2 separate regions of the Homo sapiens genome follow, and region 1 is linked to region 2. The links are contacts of gene promoters, found by promoter capture Hi-C in human tissues and cell types (Jung and others, 2019). All regions are on one chromosome and are shown on one strand. Each heading gives the region's core, a stretch centred on a gene start or on the middle of the fragment in contact. The rest is flanking DNA. Distances are from core to core; before and after follow the strand shown.

What was found. Contacts are between HindIII fragments. The study calls those that stand out against the background at their distance.
Region 1: a fragment that was not itself captured here is called in contact with the fragment with the promoter of IGIP in region 2 in 1 of the 25 tissues and cell types used here (hippocampus).

The regions. Positions count from the first base shown.
Region 1 is chr5:139,622,866-139,628,013 of GRCh38, reverse strand. It overlaps UBE2D2 (ubiquitin conjugating enzyme E2 D2), which reads right to left. Exons shown (of 7, transcript NM_003339.3): 6 at 4,553-4,646; 7 at 1-1,258. The coding sequence ends at 1,213. Among named protein-coding and RNA genes, the nearest start is that of CXXC5, 23 kb to the left of the region's middle. The HindIII fragment of the contact is 3,301 bases long and covers 53-3,353 here.
Region 2 is chr5:140,123,537-140,129,034 of GRCh38, reverse strand. IGIP (IgA inducing protein) reads right to left here and starts at 3,098. Exons shown (of 1, transcript NM_001007189.2): 1 at 1-3,098. The coding sequence starts at 558. The coding sequence ends at 397. It overlaps PURA (purine rich element binding protein A), which reads right to left. Exons shown (of 1, transcript NM_005859.5): 1 at 3,416-5,498. The HindIII fragment of the contact is 10,247 bases long and covers 1-5,498 here.

The sequences.
Region 1 (5,148 bases), core at 454-2,953, 500 kb after region 2:
TGTCCTATGTACCAAGGGAATGTCACAAGGTTTTGATGAAATGCAGCTTAGTTTCATTAATAAAGCAAATTTCTTATTGAATTTAACAATCAAGTTCCTGGAATGCTGCATGTGTTGTTTCATGGAAATGCTCTTAAGCTTATGCCTCTAACTTGTTCAATAAAATTACTCGTAAGATATCCTTTTTACAATGTAACTGGAATTGTTTCATGATCTTAAAATGCAACCAGTATAAATGAACATTTCAGAAGTGGGAGAAAATCCACCACTAATCTCAGCTAGACAAACTTCTTAAAAATGAAAAAGCCTATTCACACAAAATTATATGTAATGACTGTAGTAACCAGTTTATTACACAGATTAATCATTCTTGAAAGTACAAGCTCCAGAGGAGCAATTGGGTCTTTAAATATACACAAGTATTTCCATCAAATGAATTTTCACCCTTACATCCAAATAGACCTAAGCGGTTAAAAACATAAGAAAAATAAGAGCTATTAGCTATGTATTAACTGAGAAACCACATACAAACCAAAGAATATGGAAGAGAGAAAGAAGGGCTGAAAGGCCAAAGGTTGAAGGGGTAGGGAGATGTAAAAGAGTTGGGAACAAAGCCCATCACACTTGATGTACTAATAGCTCCAATCCATTTAAATGTTGACCAGTTAAACTTAGACCTTAAAATGCAGGATGTGGGTAGAGTTTAATCTGGTTGGTCATAACTTTCACCTAAGACGTAGCTCCTTCGGAATAAAATGAATACAGACACAGCTTCATGTTCTTCACCTTGCTTTTCATAACTGTTTTGAGTTTAAATGGATTCCACTTAAAAATAATCTCCTATAGGTGAGTGGAGCCTTTTCTTTCCCATCCAAGCACACACCATACCCACCACCCCCCTCACACCTTGCTGTTATCCAAATTTAAGTCAATAAGAAAAGCTTTTAGTCTCACACCTAGGTAATGCCTGTAGAACTGGCTTGTCACACACACACTTCTCTGCTAGGAGGCAATGTTGGTACAGAAGTACAGTATTTCTAGTTTGTTGTTCCAAGTATGTACAACACGCAGCACTGCTGTATCAGGTAAACATGTGCACAGGGGAAGATGAGGCGTGGGCTCATAGAAAGCAGTCAAATGGAAATCAAAAGGACTTTCTCTTTCAGAGTTCCCCTATCTTTATTTGTAGAGGTTATCCAATAATTTCTTTAATTACATCGCATACTTCTGAGTCCATTCCCGAGCTATTCTGTTGTACCTGTACACACAAAGAGAAGCTTGGCTTAACATAGGTGTGGAGTCAGTAAGCAACAGATTCCATTCATTATCCCATCAAGTAACTTGAAGAGAGTAGCTTATAGGACATTCAAGGAAAGGCCCCTTTCTATCCCAAATTTCTGATAAGGATTAATTCAATGATAATGGGAAGGAGCTGTAAAATGTGAAAGTCTCCTTTAATTGCTACTTATAGAGGGTTCTGATTAAATTTTAGTATTTGTTGGCATATACCTTATTCCATACTTGATTGGCCTATTTCTACAAAAGATGTCCACTCAATTCATTCATTTAAAGTACTTGAAATTATATGATTCTACATTACATAGTTCTTGAACTCATATACTAATAATGATTAAACCGACAGAAGGCTGGGCATGTTGGCTCACACCTGTAATCCCAGCACTTTGGGAGGCTGAGTCGGGTGGATCACTTGAGCCCAGGCGTTTCACACCAGCCTGGGCAACATGATAAAACCCTGTCTCTACAAAAAAATACAAAAATTAGCAGGGTGTGGTGGCGCATGACTATAGTCCCAGCTACTCAGGAGGCTGAGGTGGGAAGATCGTTTGAGCTCAGGAGGCAGAGGTTGCAGTGAGCTGAGATTGCAATACTGTACCATAGCCTGGGTGACAGAGTGAGGCTCTGTCTCAAAAAAAAAGGGGGAAAAAAAACCAAACTTTCCTTTCATATCAATAAAACAATTGGTTCTGGTAGAACTAATTTCAACAATTTGGTTGACAAAATGAATGGGTTTATTGCTTCAGAAGAACATTTGAATAAAGTAAGCAGAGCAAATGATTCTATAATTCTCCTATTAAAAAACGGGTGCTAGGCCGGGTGTGGTGGCTCACGCCTGTAATCCCAGCACTTTGGGAGGCTGGAGCAGCTGGATCACTTGAGGTCAGGAGTTCCAGACCAGCCTGGCCAACATGGCAAAATCCCGTCTCTACTGAAAACACAAAAATTAGCCAGGCATGGTGATGTGCGCCTGTAATCCCAGCTACTCAGGAGGCTGAGGCACAGGAATCACTTGAGCCTGGGAGGCAGAGGCTGCAGTGAGCCAAGATTGTGCCACTGCATTCCACCTGGGCAACGGAGCAAGACTCTGTCTCAAAAAAAAAAAAATTAGCTGGATGTGATGGCATCTGCCTGTGGTCCCAGCTACTTGGGAAGCTCAGATGGGAGGACTACTTGAGCCTGGGAGGTTGAGGTTACAGTGAGCTGTGATTGTGCCACTGCATTCCAGTCCGGGCAACAGAGCAAGACCCTGCCTCAAAAAAAAAAAAAAAAAAAAAGGGGGGGGGGTGGGGGTGGGTATGCTGGCCTTGCACGGTAACTCATGCCTGTAACAGCAGCACTTTGGGGGGCTGAGGCAGAAGGCCTGCTTGAGGCCAGGAATTAGAGACCAGCCTGTGCAACATAGTGAGATCCTGTCTCTACAAAAAAAAAAAAAAAAAAACAAATTAGCCAGGTGTAGTGGCATGTACTAGCAGTCCCAGCTACTGGGGAGGCTGGAAAGGTGTAGTGGCATGTACTAGCAGTCCCAGCTACTGGGGAGGCTGGGGTGGGAGGATCACTTGAGCCCATGAGTTTGACACTGCAGTGAGCCACGATTGTGCCACTGTACTCCAGTCTGGGCTGAAGAACAAGACCCTGTCTCTGCAAAAAAAAAAGTGGGGGGTTAGAGGGTGGGGGCAGTGCAGTTTGGGAAAGTTCTGTTCAACAGTGTTCAACATTACTCCATGATGACTTGGGAAATGACTTCTGGTAAGCATTCAGACCCACAATTCTAAATATCGGACAAAACAGTTCTCTAATCAAAAAAATTTGACAATAAATTCACAAATAGGAAAAAGCAAGAACCAACTACTGTTAGAATATCCCATTCCCAGTGTTACCTCCACTAAAAACAAAAACGTATCTATGCCTCTCTAATCCACTAGAACTCAAGTTGGAGACGTGAGTCTTGCTCTGTCGCCCAGGCTGAAGTGCAGTGGTGCAATTTCAGCTCACCGCAACCTAAACGTCCTGAGTTTAAGCAATTATCTCAGCCTCTCGAGTAGCTGCGATTACAGGTGCCCGCCACCATGCCCGGCTAATTTTTGTATTTTTAGTAGAGACGGGGTTTCACCCCGTTGGCCAGGCTGGTCTCAAACTCCTGACCTTGTGATCTGCCCACCTCAGCCTCCCAAAGTGCTGGGGTTACAGGCGTGAGCCACTGCGCCCGGCCCTAAAAGAACTATCCACCCTCTCCTATCTAGTTCCTCTTATAACTTCACTGAATACTACATAAAACAGATGTTATTAGTGCTGGGCATGGTGGGCATGCTTATAATCCTAGCTACTCCAGAGGCTGAGGTAGGGAGTTTGAGACCAACCCAGGCAACACAGCAAGACTCCATCTCAAAAGAAAAAAAGAAAAGAAAAAATGCTACTAGAACACTTTTAGCTACTATCTCTTTTGATATCTTGACCACTGTTCAATAATTCATAGTACAATTCTAAAATACCCAAATTCTACATCAAGTTTTGTTTTTAAAAGAAATTTGGGGCTTTCACGTCTAATGGCATTTATTTGCTTTCTTCCTTTAGATTATGTCAAATGGTAGGAAATCAATTCTCTTTTCCCATTAATTGACAAATACCTATGGCAGGCAAATGGGCACTTGATGAAAAGTGCTTTATATATCAAAAGCCAAGCATAAGGCATTAAGCTGTTGAAAAATATACCATAGGAAAGTTTTTGTATGGGTGTGGTGGCTCACACCTGTAATCCCAGCACTTTGGGAGGCCTAGGCAGGCAGATCATTTGAGGTCAGGAGTTCGAAACCAGCCTGGCCAACATGGTAAAAGTCTCTACTAAAACTACAAAAAAAACGAACCTGGCGTGGTGGCCTGCGCCTGTAATCCCATCTACTCGGGAGGCTGAGGCATGAGAATCACTTGAACCCAGGAGGCGGAGGTTGCAGTGAGCCAAGACTGCACCATTGCACTCTAGCCTGGGTGACAGAGTAAGACCCTGTCTCAAAAAAAAACAAACAAAAAAAAAAGTTTTTGTAGACAAGAGGAGTCACGTGAAACAATCAGGGATAAGACTGGCATCATCTACTTATAATAATACTCAATGCATATATTTCTCTTTTCTAGCCCCAGGAGAGTATATTAGGACTTCACTTTAAATATCTGGCCGATATTCAGCCCTTAAACAAGAAAGATTTGTGACAAACATCTCCATCCCACCACAGATAACTTTCCATCTTGAGGCCATACTTACTTTTCTCTATCTGTTTTGTAGATCCGAGCAATCTCAGGCACTAAAGGATCATCTGGATTGGGATCACACAACAGAGAACAGATGGACAAGAGTACTAGAATGAAAAAAATCATATAAATTAGCAGAGGATCAAAGCAAAGGGTTGAGAGAAACATGAGACGCCAAAACATGAGAAAATTCTAAGAATTTATACTGTAATGCCTAGCAGCTTTGTAAGTTTTACTTAACTTTATATTAACAGTAACCAACAAGGATTATTATTATTATTATTATTTCTTTTTTTTTTAGCAGAATTGGGGTTTCACCATGTTGGCCAGGCTGGTCTCGAACTCCTGACCTCAGGTGATCCACCCACCTCGGCCTCCCAAAGTCCTGGGATTACAGGCTTGAACCACCATGCCTGGCCTAATTTTTGTATTTTTAGTAGAGATGGGGTTTCGCCATGTTGGTCAGGCTGGTCTGGAACTCCTGACCTCGTGATTCACCCGCCTCGGCCTCCCAAAGTGCTGGGATTACAAGCGTGAGCCACCACACCTGGCAAATAGTTTTTTTTATTTTTTATTTTTTGAGACGGAGTCTGGCTCTGTCGCCCAGAC
Region 2 (5,498 bases), core at 1,849-4,348:
ATTCACATAACATTTTTAAAAATAAGCAAACCTACCTTAAAATAAAATAGAAGATAGAGTTCTCTAGTATGAGAGCACACTTAATGCTTGCAGCCAATTCATAAGCATAAGTATACCTGCTACTGAGTCCTAAAAAGTTTCCACCTATCAAAAAAAAAAAAAATCCAAGATCGCAACCAGACCCCTTCCCCCAAAAAGCACTGAAACAAAAGACTGATCTGATTATACAGTCACATGAAAAATAAACATCTTTATTTTTTTGCCTACTTTATTTCATTTTTTCAAATAAAATTTAAATCTGTACAAAGTATACTGTTACAGTATATATTTTGTAAGAATCAATGCCTAAAATAATCACAATACTTCAATAAGCAGTACAGCAGACCTCGCTAGTTTTCAGCTTTGATATTGAACAAACTCAAGCCGGCTGATGCACAACACGTTTGCTTGGTTTCCACATGGTGATTTCCCAGCACTGAGATGGGAGAACATGACAGCAAATATGGTAATATTACAGCCCGACACACTGCGTTTCTTCATGTGATAATAACTGCACATATTTAATACAGAATGCTCAAATTTACTTTTTAAATTGCATTTGCTTACTTCTTAGTTGGCAAAATTCAGCATTCTTAAATGGGGTCCCCAAACAGTGCAAATTAATGATATTCTAACTGTATATTGGCACATCTCCAATAAGGATTAACTTGTAAACTCAAAGAATATCAACAACTTAGTCCTAAATTTTAACTAATATACATCTGGTCCATTTAACCAAAGTCATTTTGGAAAGATATTAAAGAACAATTCTATTTCTGAAAGGATATTGTTTTGACCATTCTTTAGAGAAGATAAATTTTTAAATTGTCATTAAAATGTTTCACTATAAAAATTTTACAAACTTGATTAGAAATTTCAAGATTATGATTCACAGCAGACAAATACAAACTGTATATTCCAACAATACCTATTCTTAGACTTTCAAACAGAGCACAACCATGTCAGCTGTGTTAACTAAAATTCTGAACAGTGTACTAAATTTATAAGTGGTGCTGGGTCTAGCAAGTGTAAATACACAGTATATTTCAATGAAAAGAATTGTCTTCTTTATACTTTATTTGTTTTCCCATAAGGAAACATTAATGTTTACATTCTTTAATAAAGTTAATCTTACATCAGAATATAACTTAATACTGTCAGCAACAGGGACCACACACAGTAAATAAGAAGCACATTTAAAATAAGTCTGATTTCACATAGATTAACATTTGTTGGTTAATAAAATATCGACAGTATTACAATCTTACAATATTTACAGTAAGAAAAATCTAGAGTAATATATACCTTTCACAGCAGGATTCCTTTTTTTAAAATTTCTTCCAGTTTGGGATTGTGTATACACAAAAAGCTCAAAATAAAGCAACTCTGCAATATAATCTTAAAATAATGGCTACTGGGGGAAATTCTATCACAACCATTGAAAATAATGGTGACTTCTCACGGAGTCTGTGGCATCTGAGAACCCAGTTAATTAACCAAAGTCTTGCTCATATTAGCCTCAGTTACCCAGATTAAAGCAGAACTCCGGCCTTCCCTGACTGCTGAAAACCCAACAGATTTTCTCAACATGCTATAAGGAAAGAGGAAAAATTGGTTTCAGCTCACACCTCATGGCTGGAAGCCTCTGGAAGCCTCCAGCCAGTGCACACTCCCCAACTTATGCTAAAAGAGGGCCAATTTCATCCCCACAGCATCACAAGAGTCCACCCTCCAACCACACAGTGCTCTGACACCAAGCTCACCCATTCCTCAACTCTTGTGCCTTAGGATAACACATGAACTTAGCCCACATAATACACACCAGCGTCTTAGAGACTTGAGACCAGGGCAAAGAAACAGACTAGTGTAGTTTGCACTGAGATCAGTAAGAAAAATGGGAAGTGATGCACATTTCCAATTAGAATGACAAGAAGAAGACCCACATCCCTAAACTGGAATTTGGCCAGGGCATCAGAGTTAGCACCCCCTCTCTGAGTACCGCTAGCGATTAGGATGTGTGCTCTGGGCCTCCTCTAAAAGAGAGCATCTACAGTAAGTAACACAGTATGGGACATTAGTTCAGTGACGACTGCCAAGAAAGCAGATACAATTCTTGAATCTGGGGCTGTCTACGGCACCTGAGGTCAATCATCCAAGCTGTGACCTGTCCCAACCCTGCTTACTTTAAGATATCTGATGGGCACAGAGCACTCAGGGATATGGCTGCTGGCTACTTTGGACTCTAGATCTCACAGGTAATCAACAGGTATCTGGGATTGAATTAGCAAACTGTACCATAGCTCCTTAAACAGACATTGTCAAGTCTGAAATCATGTCAAGCATGAATCTTCACTGTCAGGTCAGTAATCAAAGTGGGAGTCTTCCCACATCAGCCAAGGTTATTTTGTCAGAACCTTAGAGGAGTTGGACAGTTTTTCATGTTGCAAGTGATTGGTTTACTTATTTCAGTCAAGCTGGATTGGCAAACCAGACTGATTTATTTAGTGAGCTTTGTTTTTTTGATTCTTATGTGTGTGCTAACCCAAAGCTGTTGTATTTGGGCTAAATACACTGACAGAGAAAATTCAAACGACAAAAGTTTTCAGCAAACTTCTGTGGCATTTTTTCTTTTTGGAAGTAAATGCAAGATCTAAAGGTATTTCTACCCAACAACGTCTGTTTAAGTGTTTAATGTTATTTCCTTTTTGGTCCTATACAGAATGCTATGACTTCTATATAGGTCTGAATGCTGCTCCATGTAGATTCCTTCTGTATATCTAAAAATATATACTTTTCAGTAGTTCAATACATGGTTAATCTTCCCACAGAGGAAGATTTTTGTAATCACATGTTGCAAAGTAGAAAACATCTCCTTTCTAAGAAAGGAAATATACTTTCCTATTGTACACTTTTGAATAAGCCCAAAGGCATGCACCAAAAATCATTAATAAAACTAATACATGCAATAAAATGGTGTAGAGTTAGACTTAAAGTGCTGCTTCTCAATTTTTTTTAATTTGAAGAAGACATTTTGTCAGTTGTAGACTCAAAAATCTTTCCCCCACCCACCCTCCCCACCCCATGGCATTAAGAGAGAAAAGTAAAAAGTATGCATAAATCTTTTAACTATGCTTTACATGGGGGAAAGAACAGATGTATCAACTATCCTATATATCAACTGGATTCCCAGTTTTAAATAAAACCAATATTTACTGGTAAAAATTGTCAAAGCGAATACACGCAAACAAATGTTACTAGTAAATAAATGTTCTACATAGAGAATAATTTACTTTGGTTTTATGCGCCTTCTCAAAAATAACACTAGTGTCCCAACGTCACCAAACTGATGTGTTCCAGCAAAGTTGTAAGGCAAATCTTTTTTTCCCTAGTGACATCTTGTTTCCCAACAGACAAAACTAAAATCTTTTGGTGAGGAAGGGGTTAAGATAATGGCTAACCCCTTGGCATCCTGAGCATTGTGGTTTATCAAACTCTACCCTGCTAGAAATTGTCAGGCACCCTGACCCCTGCCTTGAACCAGGAAGGCTCCCATGTCTAGAGATGCCCTGACTCCTTATAAATAGCTTTCAGAACTTTGCTTTTTTCCCTTCTCTCTGGTTGTTATAATGTCTAACGAAGCTGGTTGCAATGTCACATTTTGCTAGTAGGGGCCACCATCTAACAATAATTCCAATATGAAAGGTTTTAAGCCAATAGTTGGTTCCTAATTTTATCAACGATTTGCACTAAAATTCTCTACAATTTACTTAGAGCAGAGATCTTTAACTTGGGTTTCAGAAGATGTGTGATGCCCCTGAAGTTGTATGCAAAATTATCCAGGGATGGGCATTTTTTTTTTCTTGGGTAGAGGATCCATCACACTGTCATCAGATTATCAAAGATATCTGTGACCCCCAAAAAGGGTTATAGGGACTTAGAGGGATACCCGTAATTCATTTTATACCAGGACTGGGAAATGGGGGCAGAAAACTAAAAATGGCCTCGAAAAAGGCCAGGGACAAATTGCTGATCTTTTCCCTTTATTCACATTGGGAAAATAAGTGCTTCAAACTGGAAAAATCATTAATTAAGCTGGTTAAACTCCATTAAAAAATAATCAAATCGCTTTCTAAATTTTTTTCATTTTCGATATGTGGTAAATTTTGTCTCCAAGAAAAGGTTTGGAGACTGAATTTTTCTCTTTTCCTAAAGGAAATTCATAGATAGAATGCTGAATATCATCCACATTTAAAGATTTGACAACATAAAAGTTAGATAACTCTTAATGATGTGAATCTTTAACTTATGATTTTGAGTAAAGGATTATCTAGAATCAAATATACACTTATTAATCTTCATTTCCCAAAATTGGTCCATATTTAGACAACTACCTGGCACAATTTCACTAGATAAACCTAAAATCTGAACAATGGAAGTTAAACTTCTACCCAAAGTAAAAACAAAGCCATAAGATTCCACAATTGAATTGGCCACAAACATTCACACTATGTTATAAAGGACTTTCTCATTTCAAATACATCACTGAATGTTCAACAGAATTTGCAAACATAAGATCCAGAATGACTAGCAAAACATGCTAAGAGCATGTCAAAAAGTAAAACACCACCTCTCCCCCCCCAATCTGGAAACACACTCAGGCATTCCAAAAATAAACCAGATCTGAAAAGAGGCCTCTCACTTGGTTTTAAGTATGAGGTGTGTACAAAGCTATGGGAAAGGGAATATAAAATGAAATAACCAAATAACTTACAAAAAATAATTTTAGCCAAAAACACATCTCTCTGTTCCATTGATAAAACTATCAATTTTTAAATTTTTTTGCAATTCTGAACACTGTGTTGCATAATATCACCAAGACAAAAAATATGTTCACAGGTACACTTTTTGTTATTTTCTTTCTAGAGCACATCTTTGAGGTCATAAGACCGCATCTGGTTAAAATAAAGTCTCTTGCCCTTGCTTCCCTTCCCCCTCAAAGTGATTCAACCCTGAATTCCAAAAAGGAATATTCAATATAACAACTTGAAAACCAGTTGTAACACTTAGACCATAAGGAAACTATATGAACATTATGGAAAACTACATGAAAGAGGGAGCTGCCACTTGCCACCCACTTCACTTCCAGCTTTTTAAGCATGTACCCAGCTAGACTCCTATCTCACTGACTTCAGTGAAACAAACTAACACACCAAATCTAGGCCATCTCAGGCTGGAAGTTAAAACTCGAAGACATCATTTCATATACACATACATATATATTCCCTATCCTAAGCTTTAACTTTGTCTATTTAAACAGTTTAATAAAGCTCACATTTACAAAGGATTTTATTGGCAAATAAAGGCCCATATTAAAAATTTTATCAGAACAAATTTTTGTTTTATACAGCTAACATTAAGAAATATTTTCTTGGCCTTATAAAATATTTTTAATTGCATAT